4 separate regions of the Homo sapiens genome follow, and regions 1, 2 and 4 are each linked to region 3. Evidence: promoter capture Hi-C in 16 types of primary human blood cells and fetal thymus (Javierre and others, 2016). All regions are on one chromosome and are shown on one strand. The core of a region is centred on a gene start or on the middle of the fragment in contact, and the rest is flanking DNA. Distances in the headings are between cores, read along the strand shown. Region 1 holds the start of MAGOHB (mago homolog B, exon junction complex subunit). Region 2 overlaps LINC02446 (long intergenic non-protein coding RNA 2446). Region 3 holds the start of TMEM52B (transmembrane protein 52B). Region 4 holds the start of EIF2S3B (eukaryotic translation initiation factor 2 subunit gamma B).

What was found. Contacts are between HindIII fragments. The CHiCAGO score rates a contact against its expected background, and 5 or more counts as called.
Region 1: a contact is called between a fragment that was not itself captured here and the fragment with the promoter of TMEM52B in region 3, in 1 of 17 cell types (naive CD8 T cells). The highest score is 5.1, in naive CD8 T cells.
Region 2: a contact is called between a fragment that was not itself captured here and the fragment with the promoter of TMEM52B in region 3, in 1 of 17 cell types (naive CD4 T cells). The highest score is 5.3, in naive CD4 T cells.
Region 4: the fragment with the promoter of EIF2S3B here is called in contact with the fragment with the promoter of TMEM52B in region 3 in 1 of 17 cell types (naive CD8 T cells); the score reaches 6.2 in naive CD8 T cells.

The regions. Positions count from the first base shown.
Region 1 is chr12:10,613,029-10,615,728 of GRCh38, forward strand. It overlaps MAGOHB (mago homolog B, exon junction complex subunit), which reads right to left and starts at 581. Exons shown (of 5, transcript NM_018048.5): 1 at 411-581. The coding sequence starts at 504. RefSeq lists enhancers at 1-517, 302-701, 518-1,395. The HindIII fragment of the contact is 670 bases long and covers 916-1,585 here.
Region 2 is chr12:10,561,623-10,564,322 of GRCh38, forward strand. All of the region lies in intron 1 of LINC02446 (long intergenic non-protein coding RNA 2446), which reads left to right. Among named protein-coding and RNA genes, the nearest start is that of LINC02446, 9.6 kb to the left of the region's middle. The HindIII fragment of the contact is 2,885 bases long and covers 1-2,700 here.
Region 3 is chr12:10,177,645-10,180,350 of GRCh38, forward strand. TMEM52B (transmembrane protein 52B) reads left to right here and starts at 1,388. Exons shown (of 5, transcript NM_001384896.1): 1 at 1,388-1,984. The coding sequence starts at 1,931. RefSeq lists an enhancer at 1,746-2,706. The HindIII fragment of the contact is 29,503 bases long and covers 1-2,706 here.
Region 4 is chr12:10,504,590-10,507,318 of GRCh38, forward strand. EIF2S3B (eukaryotic translation initiation factor 2 subunit gamma B) reads left to right here and starts at 1,301. Exons shown (of 1, transcript NM_001357734.3): 1 at 1,301-2,729. The coding sequence starts at 1,314. All of the region lies in intron 3 of LOC105369657 (a long non-coding RNA gene), which reads right to left. The HindIII fragment of the contact is 5,298 bases long and covers 1-1,551 here.

The sequences.
Region 1 (2,700 bases), core at 1-2,500, 440 kb after region 3:
TTGTTAACACGTTGGGCTCCTCCCCTTCAAAGAAAACACACAGCCTAAATGAAAAAAAGGTACTGGTCACCACAAGATTTTATTCATCCACTGGACCACCCGCTGGTGGGGGTGTTTTCAAAAAAGTGCTAGCATTTTCAATCAGGGCGACGATCTAGAGTCCCTTCTGGTGCACTGTTACAGAATTCTGATTACTGTAGGTTCAACTTTTCAGTTTGTGACAGGATTAGCTTTAATTTATTGCAATTAATTCTCTTTCATTTATAAAACCAACTTATGCCTCCTCTATTCTTAAGCTCCTATTTCCTTCGAGGGAAGCAGTGGCCTCCGCCGCCTGTACCCTCCACACCACCCGGCCTCTCGGTCTCGCTCCCCTTTCCCAGCACCGCGTGCCGTGGGCCTCTTCTCACCGTCCGGCCGAAATTCGAACTCCAGAAACTCGTGCCCAAACTTGCCCTTGTGCCCTACGTAGTAGCGCAGGTAGAAATCGCTAGCCACAGCCATTTTTGTACCCGGGAAGCCCGCCGAAAACGCAGCCAACGTGTCCCCCGGCGCCTTGCAGTGACGTCATCGCGCGGAATAAGTGCGTCACCACAGGCGCTTCTCTTCCTCCTGCAGTGCAGCCCTAGACTAAAGCGTGAAAGCCGAGTATCGCGTGAGAGTCCGGAGGCGCTGAAGGGAGGGTCGCAGCGCCGTGACTTTCGCTTTACTAGGAATGGAGGCACATTGTTTTCAAAATAAAGATTACATTATACTAGCAAAGATTAGAAATGTGAGCATATGATAGTCTTTTTTATGGACTTAGAGCTAAAGGTTTGCAAGTCACTTTTACTTTTCTGGTCTCCCAATCCTTGCGGCGTTTGTGAGGTGGGTGTGGCTCTATGCCCCCTTTAACTGTGAGCTAAATAAAGATAAAGCTTAGAATCGAAATGGCAGACCGGGAATATAAACTATTTTTCTTACTTAATTTCTAACAGGGTGCTTTCCCTTTGGATAGCGATTGGTAGTTACCCGGGACCTCTAAGCCTATAATAATAGAGACAAAGTCAAAGGAATCCAACTCTTAAAACCCTCACACCCCCCACACCTGAAAAACCCTGACAGTCACCGTGCTTTTTTTAACAGCAGAACTTCTAAGGTTCTTAATTCATTCAATAAGGGTTAACTTTTAGTAGCCTGTGAAGTTTTGGCAATTTGACTTACGATACAATAATGGTTTAGCCCATTATTGTTTCTCGCCAGATAGAATTAAATTGGGGGAATGAAAGAATGCTCCAGTGTGGCGTAGTTTTTAAGGTAAGGGAAAGACTTTTACACAAAGTTTCCTTTTCAGATATTATTGATCACCCTTTTGTTATCAACACACAGAGTAATCCTATCTGTCGGTTGACAACCTTCAGTGATTTTTAGTAGAAAGTGGTGGAGAGAAGACCTGGGATTCAATCCCAACACTTAACAGCTAACTAACCTCGGGCAAGTGACTATCTCTAAGCCTGTTTGTTCATCAGCCTAATGCATATACAGCAATCTACATTGCCAAGCTCACAGAATTCTTGAGAGATCTAATGAGATAATATGTAAAATAAGCTTTAAATTTTATAAAACATTAGTTTTAACAAACATTTCCTATGTGACAGTTTGAAACTAGAAATAAGCCATTTGATCTGGTAGTCTAGAAAAGAAAGCAAACACGTAAGGCGAATACCAGCACAAGGGAGCAATTGCTATAATTAAGAATATATGTGCCATCCTGGCCAGCATGGTGAAACCCCGTCTCTATTAAAAATACAAAAAAATTAGCTGGGCGTGGTGGCGCGTGCCTGTAATACCAGATACGCGGGAGGCTGAGGCAGGAGAATTGCTTGAACCCTGGAGGCAGAGGTTTCAGTGAGCTGAGATCGTGCCACTGCATTCCAGCCTGGGCAACAAGAGCGAAACTCTGTCTCAAAAAAAAAAAAAAAAAAAAAAGAAAAAGAAAAGAAAGCCTATATGTGGCCGGGCGCAGTGGCTCATGCCTGTAATCCCAGCACTTTGGGAGGCCAAAGGGGGCAAATCACCCGAGGTCAGGAGTTCAAGACCAGCCTGGCCAACATGGCAAAACCTTGTCTTTACTAAAAATACAAAAATTAGCCAGGTTTGGTGGCACGTGCCTGTAATCCTAGCTACTCAGGAGGCTGAGGCAGGAGAATCGCTTGAACCCGAGAGGCGGAGATCGCGCAGTTGCACTCCAGCCTGGGTGACAAGAGCGAAACTTCGTCTAAAAAAAAAAAAGTGTGTAAAACATGCCGGTAGTACAGCAGAGGAAGCAAGAGCATTCTATTGCAGAGTAGGGAAATTTGAAAAAAGAGTATTGGAAAAGGCTTGTCAACGGAAGTGTTTGAATTGGACCTTGAGAAGTAAGTTCTGTGTATGTTCAGTGGGATGAAAAAGCATTCCAGGCAGAAAATGACCCGAGCAAAGACAGTGGTGTGAAAATTCATGTTTGGGGAACACTAAGAAATTCGGTATAGCTAGAGCATAAGGTTCAAGTAGAATGACTAAAAAGGCAAATTGGGCCACGTTTCCTTGAGTCCATATTAGTAGTTATATAACTATTAATATAGAAAAATGAATCAGTCCCTACAATGGGCCACCATTTTGGAAAGTACGTAAGAAACAGGAAGCACCATGTTTTACCACTAGGGTGACTAGCCGTTCCAG
Region 2 (2,700 bases), core at 153-2,652, 380 kb after region 3:
CAGGCTGGAGTGCAATGGTGCCTTCTTAGCTCACTGCAATCTCAGCCTCCCAAATTGAAGGGATTCTGCTGCCTCAGCCTCCTGAGTAAGCTGGGACTACAGGTGTGAGCCACCACACACAGCTAACTTTAGTATTTTTTGGTAGAGATGGGGTTTCATCATGTTGGCCAGGCTAGTCTCAAACTCCTGATATCAGGTGATCCACCTGCCTCAGCCTCCCAAAGGGCTGGGATTACAGGAGTGAGCCACCATGCCCAGCCCTAAAAAACTAATGTTATGTTATTGTTAACTTGATTTTTTCTTATTAACATATGATGTTCCAAGGAGTCATTGTTAAAAATTGGAGTAACAAGGAGAAATATGAAGAGAGAAAAACACTTCCTTATAAAATTACATTAATATGTTTCCTTTCTATAATTTCTATGCAACATACTGGGAATCACACATTAGTTTACAACCCAATTCATAAATTAGCATTATGCCAGAAGCATTTCTCATGTCATTGAATACTTCATAAGTCATTTGAAAGTGTGTATGTTTTTTAATTGTATGATTGTATCATATATACTAACCCTTTCATTATTGTTGGACCCAAGATTTTACCTGGTATTTGACAATTCCAATAATGCTAAGGTAAAATCTTGAGTGTGTACCATTTTGTCCACATTATTTTCTGAAGATAGATTTCTAGTAGACTCATTGGCTCAAAAAGTACTACCATTTTTTAAGGTTATCAATATATTTTGCTAAATTTGTGTGCAGTAGTTATCTACTAACATTTGCTACAGCAGTTTATGAGAATATAGTTATTACTTCATTCTGACCAGCAAGACTAATTTTCAAATAAGCCTTGATTTTAGAGCTTGGTTTATGTGGTGATGCCATCTGGTGGCCTAGTACAAAATTACAGAATCAGAAGTGAAAAACCTTTTGAAAACTGTAATGAGCAAAATTAAATTTATAAGGTGATGGCAAATAGCACAAGTCTTATACGTTGTCAGAAAGCATTCTTGCTGTTTGGATTTCTAAAAATTATCAGGAGCCATGTAAAATGAAGATTACAAACTCAAACAATGCTCATTCATTCATCTCTTCAACCTGAGTTTTTGGAGTACCTACCACATGGTAGTACTATTCCCTGCTGATGAAAAAGATGAAGTCTCCATGCATGATTTCCAGGAATGTGTAGTTTAATGGGGATACATAATGCAAATTTACCACTATAAATTTTACCAAAGGCTTTCACAAGTGGTGACTAATATTTACTAATATTTGTCATTTGAATCATTTTTATCAAATGTATGATATGTAATTGTGGTTGACTTTCTCTAAAATAACTCCAGTCATCATTCCACTTCTTGGTATTCATGCCATTGTATAATCTTCTTCCCAGAGTGTGTGCTCAAGTTGGCATCTCTGTTTCTCTTTCTCTCCCTCTTTCTCTCCCACTCCCCTCTCCCACATACACGTCCCCAGCAGAAAACAGAATAACAAACTGCCATGAAGTGAGTAGCTCTATGGAGAGGTCTATGAGGCAAGGCATTGACATTTCTCCTGTTAACAGTGAGTGAGGACCTCACACCAGCCAACAGCATGTGCATGAGGCTGCATATGAGTCTGCCCCAACTGAGCCTTCAGATGACTGTAGCCCTCACCCACACCCCAAAGGCATCCTTGTGAGAAACTCTAAGTCAGAGTCACCCATGGCTGGATTCCTGACCCAAAAAAAGCATAAGTTGTGGGATAATTTAGTAATTTGTTACACACAAATAGTTAACTAATTAACTAATAAAAAGAATTTGAGCCTGGCCTGGTGGCTCATGCCTGTAATCCCAGCATTTTGGGAGGCTGAGGTGGACGGATCACTTGAGGACAGGAGTTCAAAGATCAGCCTAGCCAACATGGTGAAACCCCATCTCTACTAAAAATACAGAAATTAGCCAGGCATGGTGGCCCATGCCTGTAATCCCAGCTACTCAGGAGACTGAGGCAGGAGAATCACTTGAAGTCGGGAGGTGGAGGCTGCAGTGAACCAAGATCGCCCATTGCACTCCAGCCTGGGTGACAGAGCAAGAAACCCTGTCTTAAAAAAATAAAAAAAAGAAAGAAAGCTATTCAAACATTTGAATAGTGATTTCAACATAATTACTCAAGTCCTATACAAAATTACTTAAGTCCTATACAAATTTAAACTACAATTACAGATTTAGTTAAGCTAAGTCTTTTGAGCACCTCAAACACCTTAAGTAGCAAATATACCCAAAGAAAATTATTACAAAACCTATTGCTTACTCTTAAACCTATCCTAAAATATAACAATAGTTTTTAAACTTCATTTCTTTTGTTATTCCTATAATTTTTATTCTTCTCTAAGGCTATAATTCCACTTGATAACTTCCATTAGTTGTATTAATGCATCCTTTTACATCTTTCTGGGCTTGTAGTGATCTCCCTAGACCAATAAGCAAAATATTTCAGTAAATGGCTGGTCAAGCAACTGATTTTTAGTCAGTTTGGGACCCGTTTGTTTTTGCCACGATAATTAACTCCAGCTGCAGGCCATGAAGTCATCTCCTATTTTAGAGTTAAACTTCTTTTGTTATAAAAATAAGACATTTCAAATTCTCATCTTTCACATGTTTTTGGATTTTTATAACCTAATATCTCCATCATAAATGATACGTTTCAAGTCTCAACCAA
Region 3 (2,706 bases), core at 138-2,637:
CTATAATCCCAGCTACTCAGGAGGCTGAGGCAGGAGAATTGCTTGAACCCAGGAGGCAGAGGTTGCAGTGAGCCGAGATTGCACCACTGCCCTCCAGCCTGGTGACAGAGAGACTCTGTCTCAAATAATAATAATAATAATAATAATAATAATAATAATAATAATAATAATTTTTTTATTAAACATTTGGTATTAAGTAAAAGATCACCTACTTAAGTATAAATCATTCATACAGCATTCTTTTGTTTCTTTTAATATTTTGCTTTTTTGAGGCAGATTCTCGCTCTATCACCCAGGCTGGAGTGCAGTGGTGTGATCTCGGCTCACTGCAACTTCTGCCTTCCGGGTTCAAGTGGCCCTCCTGCTTCAGCCTCCCAAGTAGTTGGGATTACAGGTGCCTGCCATGACACACAGCTAATTTTTGTATGTTTCGTAGAGAAAGGGTTTCATCATGTTCTCCAGGCTGGTCTCAAACTCCTGGCCGAAGTTATCAGCCCGCCTTGGCCTCCCAAAGTGCTGGGATTACAGGCATGAGCCATGGCACCCGGCCACATTTGTGTCTATAGCTTTGTTTCATTGTAAGTATTCTAGGCCAGGCACGGTGGCTCACGCCTGTAATCCCAGCACTTTGGGAGGCCGAGTCGGGCGGATCATGAGGTCAGGAGATCGAGACCATTCTGGTTAACATGGTGAAACCCCGTCTCGTCTCTACTAAAAATACAAAAAAACTTAGCCGGGCGTGGTGGTGGGCGCCAGTATTCCCAGCTACTCGGGAGGCTGAGGCAGGAGAATGGCATGAACCCAGGAGGCAGAGTTTGCAGTGAGCCGAGATTGCGCCACTGCACTCCAGCCTGGGTGACAGAGCAAGACTCCGTCTCAAAAAAAAAAAAAAAAAAAGTATTCTATGCTTTTGCATGTGTGCTTGTTTTTACTCTAACCTTAGGTTTTATTTTCCTGAGTGACAAGACTTATTTCTCAATCACATCACTCCTTAACCAAAGAGAGAGAGAGAGAGAGAAAGAGAGAGAAAGAAGGAACAAAGAAAAGGCAAGAAAGAAAGAAACCTATACATTTGCTTTTTTAAAATTTGGTTTTAAAAAAATGTCTTTCTCAGTTATCTATTTCAATGGGAAGTGAAGTCAGGGAGGAGGAAGATGTCACTGATAACACCTGAAAATTCTAATCTTCCGACTTGATTTCTCATCTTCAAGTCTGTTTTCTCCAAAGATGAGATGGCTTTCCTGTTCACTTGGCAACCTCTCAGTCTTACCCCAATGCTTAGGGATATAAATGACCCAGAACCAGGAGAGTTGATTATCAACATAGTGAAGGGGAGGGTTTCAAAGAGCAAGAAGGGGTTGTTAGTCACACGGAGAGAGAAGAAAGGAGATTAGCAGGGTGACTTTCACCCTGCAACAGTCACGCTGGAGTACTCTGGTGAAGGATCAAGAATATTACCAGTTTTCTGATGAAGAAAGGAATATATTTGGTCACCAGCAATCTGCCTTTGACCATCCTCAAAGCCAAGTTTTTCATCGCTGTCTAGAAAAATACTTCATTCAGAGGACACATATGTCCTCTTTGAATGTCTCCTTTTTGGGAGCAGTAGGAGAAAGAAACTTCAAGATGTAGAAAGAATTAATAGTGTAACGGAAAGAAAGAAGGCAAAAGGAAGTAAATGTGGAGGCCATAGAAATAGTAATAAGAATAAAGAAGAAAAACAGGAAAGAAGAGGGAAAAGCCATAGAAAATAACAGCCAGAGCGAGTAGGAGGAGACAGAGAGAACGAGAGAGAGAAAAGCTGATAAATTCCTGAGAAAAGTTTCTCTTCTTAAGAATTCTAGGTCAAGAAGTAAAATATGGCACAGAGCATTGAAAGGAGGCAACGGATGCCCAGTGCAAGATTCTGAAGAAGCAGGAATTCAGCCCGATGGGAGTCCGAGTTCATGTCGTGGCGGCCTCAGCCCTGCTGTATTTCATCCTGGTGAGTTCAGTGGTGAAAAGGCAGAAAGAGTATTTTTCCCCAGATTAATCAACTCTCAGAAGAGTCTGAAAGGAAATGAACTGCGGGGTGGGGAGACATATACAGAACCCAGGGGGTCATAGGGAAATGAATAAACTACAAAGTTTCCTTAGTATTACGAGATTGCATAGATGCATGTGTGACTGATGGCAATGACAATGAAAAGGGGGACAGAAATTAGAGTGAGCATGGAAACGAGCAGGATTGCCGTGGCACTTTAGAAGTGCCGCTGAAGTATTTTATCTCTTTTAGCATCTTATCACCCATCCCTCAAAATTCCAAACAAATTATGAAAACTAGGTGTGTAATTCCCCTAAACGGAATTTCCCATCCAGGAATTTCTAATCCTGTTCTAGCAGTTTAGGTGCCTCTAGTCTAGAAATAAGAGAGGCAGGGCTCTTTTAAAATATTTTGGGCCCCACAATGAATCAGAAGTCTCTGAGTAATCCATTAGTGGAGAAAAGGGTCACTGGACTGAGGGATTCTAAACAATTGTCACAGGGAAGTTTATAGAGCTATGCCATCTAGCAAGAAGGAGAGCAAATGAAGAAAACTGGATAGTCTCAGATTCCCGTATGGCCCCCGTACAGAGTGGGCTGTATGGTTTGTTTTTTTTTTTTTTTTGCTAATAGAACAGTTAAAGTGGTATCTGAAAATCCATTTTTTCTTATATTTTCTTTTTG
Region 4 (2,729 bases), core at 51-2,550, 330 kb after region 3:
TTAAGAGTAAAACTACCCATATAACCCAATAATATCACTTCTGGGTATACAGTATATCCAAAAGAATTAAAATTAGTATCTTGAAGAGATATCTGCACTCCCACATCAATGGTAGGATTATCAAGAATAAATAATATTTAAACAACCTAAATGTACACTGACAGATGAACAGATAAAGAAAATGTAGTATGTACATATGATGGAATATTCTTCAGCCTTAAAGAAAGAATATTCTGCCATTCATGACAACATGAATGACCCTTGAGGACATTAAGCTAAATAAAATAAGCCAGTCACAGAAGAACAAATGCTTTATGATTATACTATATGAGTTATCTAAAGTAGTCAAATTCATAGGAACAGAGAATGGTGGTTACCAGGGACTCACTTTCAATTGGTTAAGTTTCAGTTACGAAAGACGAATAAGTTCTAGAGATATACTGTACCACATAGTACGTATAGTTAGCAACAATACGTTGATCACTTTAAAATCTGCTAGGAGGGTAGATCTCATGTCAAGTGTCTTACTTGCCCTCTGCTCCCAAAATAAAGGTACTCAAGAAAAACTTTGTAGATGATAAACATGCCTACTATCTTCATTGGGTGATGGTATTACGAATGTATGCATATGTCCAAACTCATCAAATTGTATACGTTAAAAATGCACAGTTTTTTTGTATATAAACTATACCTCAATAAAGCTATTGTAATAAATCTCCAATATAGCATCTATTAATGGTCATCACTCCAACATAATTTGAAGAAATGAAAATTATAATATAAACCACGACATAGCTATTTGTTTCGAACAAAAAATAAATATATTAATAATTAATCTTCTTAAAGAAGAAAAATATTTAGTGTAGAATTATTCAGTGTGTTGCTGGTTTTGTGTCTTCTTAGAAATGTAATAGCAGGCTGTATATACAAGATCCATTTTCATATAAATAGATTACAATGGTCCATTAATTTTTTAAGTATTTATCTGTGGTCAACTGAAAATATATTTTCGACCCGCCTCGCATGGGCCCAGGGGGCGGGGGTTTGGGTGGCTGCCCTCAGTATTGCCTGCACAAATATCTACCAAGTCTGCGACGAATAGCTCCAGCAACTTTGCACCGTGTTTTCCAGTAAGCCTACCGACAGGCACTGTGCAGATTCAAGCAGAGAGAAGTCCAAGCACTGAGGCCGCTGCTGCACCGGCCATCCTGAGACCCTAGTCGACCTTCCGGCCTCCGCATCCCCGCCCCGCACTAGGACCCCTGCAGACGATCAGGCGGCAGCCGGGGTGACTTTCTTCCTCTTTTGGCAACATGGCGGGCGGAGAAGCTGGGGTGACTCTGGGGCAGCCGCACCTTTCGCGTCAGGATCTCACCACCTTGGATGTTACCAAGTTGACGCCACTTTCACACGAAGTTATCAGCAGACAAGCCACAATTAATATAGGTACAATTGGTCATGTAGCTCATGGGAAATCCACAGTCGTCAAAGCTATTTCTGGAGTTCACACCGTCAGGTTCAAAAATGAACTAGAAAGAAATATTACAATCAAGCTTGGATATGCTAATGCTAAGATTTATCAACTTGATGACCCAAGTTGCCCTCGGCCAGAATGTTATCGATCTTGTGGGAGCAGTATGCCTGATGAGTTTCCTACAGACATTCCAGGAACCAAAGGGAACTTCAGATTAGTCAGACATGTTTCCTTTGTTGACTGTCCTGGCCACGATATTTTGATGGCTACTATGCTGAACGGTGCAGCAGTGATGGATGCAGCTCTTCTGTTGATAGCTGGTAATGAATCTTGCCCTCAGCCTCAGACATCTGAACACCTGGCTGCTATAGAGATCATGAAACTGAAGCATATTTTGATTCTACAAAATAAAATTGATTTGGTAAAAGAAAGGCAGGCTAAAGAACAATACGAGCAGATCCTTGCGTTTGTCCAAGGTACAGTAGCAGAGGGAGCTCCCATTATTCCAATTTCGGCTCAGCTGAAATACAATATTGAAGTTGTTTGTGAGTACATAGTAAAGAAAATTCCAGTACCCCCAAGAGACTTTACTTCAGAGCCCCGGCTTATTGTTATTAGATCTTTTGATGTCAACAAACCTGGCTGTGAAGTTGATGACCTTAAGGGAGGTGTAGCTGGTGGTAGTATCCTAAAAGGAGTATTAAAGGTGGGCCAGGAGACAGAAGTAAGACCTGGTATTGTTTCCAAAGATAGTGAAGGAAAACTCATGTGTAAATCAATCTTTTCCAAAATTGTTTCACTTTTTGCGGAGCATAATGATCTGCAATATGCTGCTCCAGGCGGTCTTATTGGAGTTGGAACAAAAATTGACCCCACTTTGTGCCGGGCTGACAGAATGGTGGGGCAAATACTTGGTGCAGTCGGAGCTTTACCTGAGATATTCACAGAATTGGAAATTTCCTATTTCCTGCTTAGACGGCTTCTAGGTGTACGCACTGAAGGAGACAAGAAAGCAGCAAAGGTTCAAAAGCTGTCTAAGAATGAAGTGCTCATGGTGAACATAGGATCCCTGTCGACAGGAGGGAGAGTTAGTGCTGTCAAGGCCGATTTGGGCAAAATTGTTTTGACCAATCCAGTGTGCACAGAGGTAGGAGAAAAAATTGCCCTTAGCCGAAGAGTTGAAAAACACTGGCGTTTAATTGGTTGGGGTCAGATAAGAAGAGGAGTGACAATCAAGCCAACAGTAGATGATGAC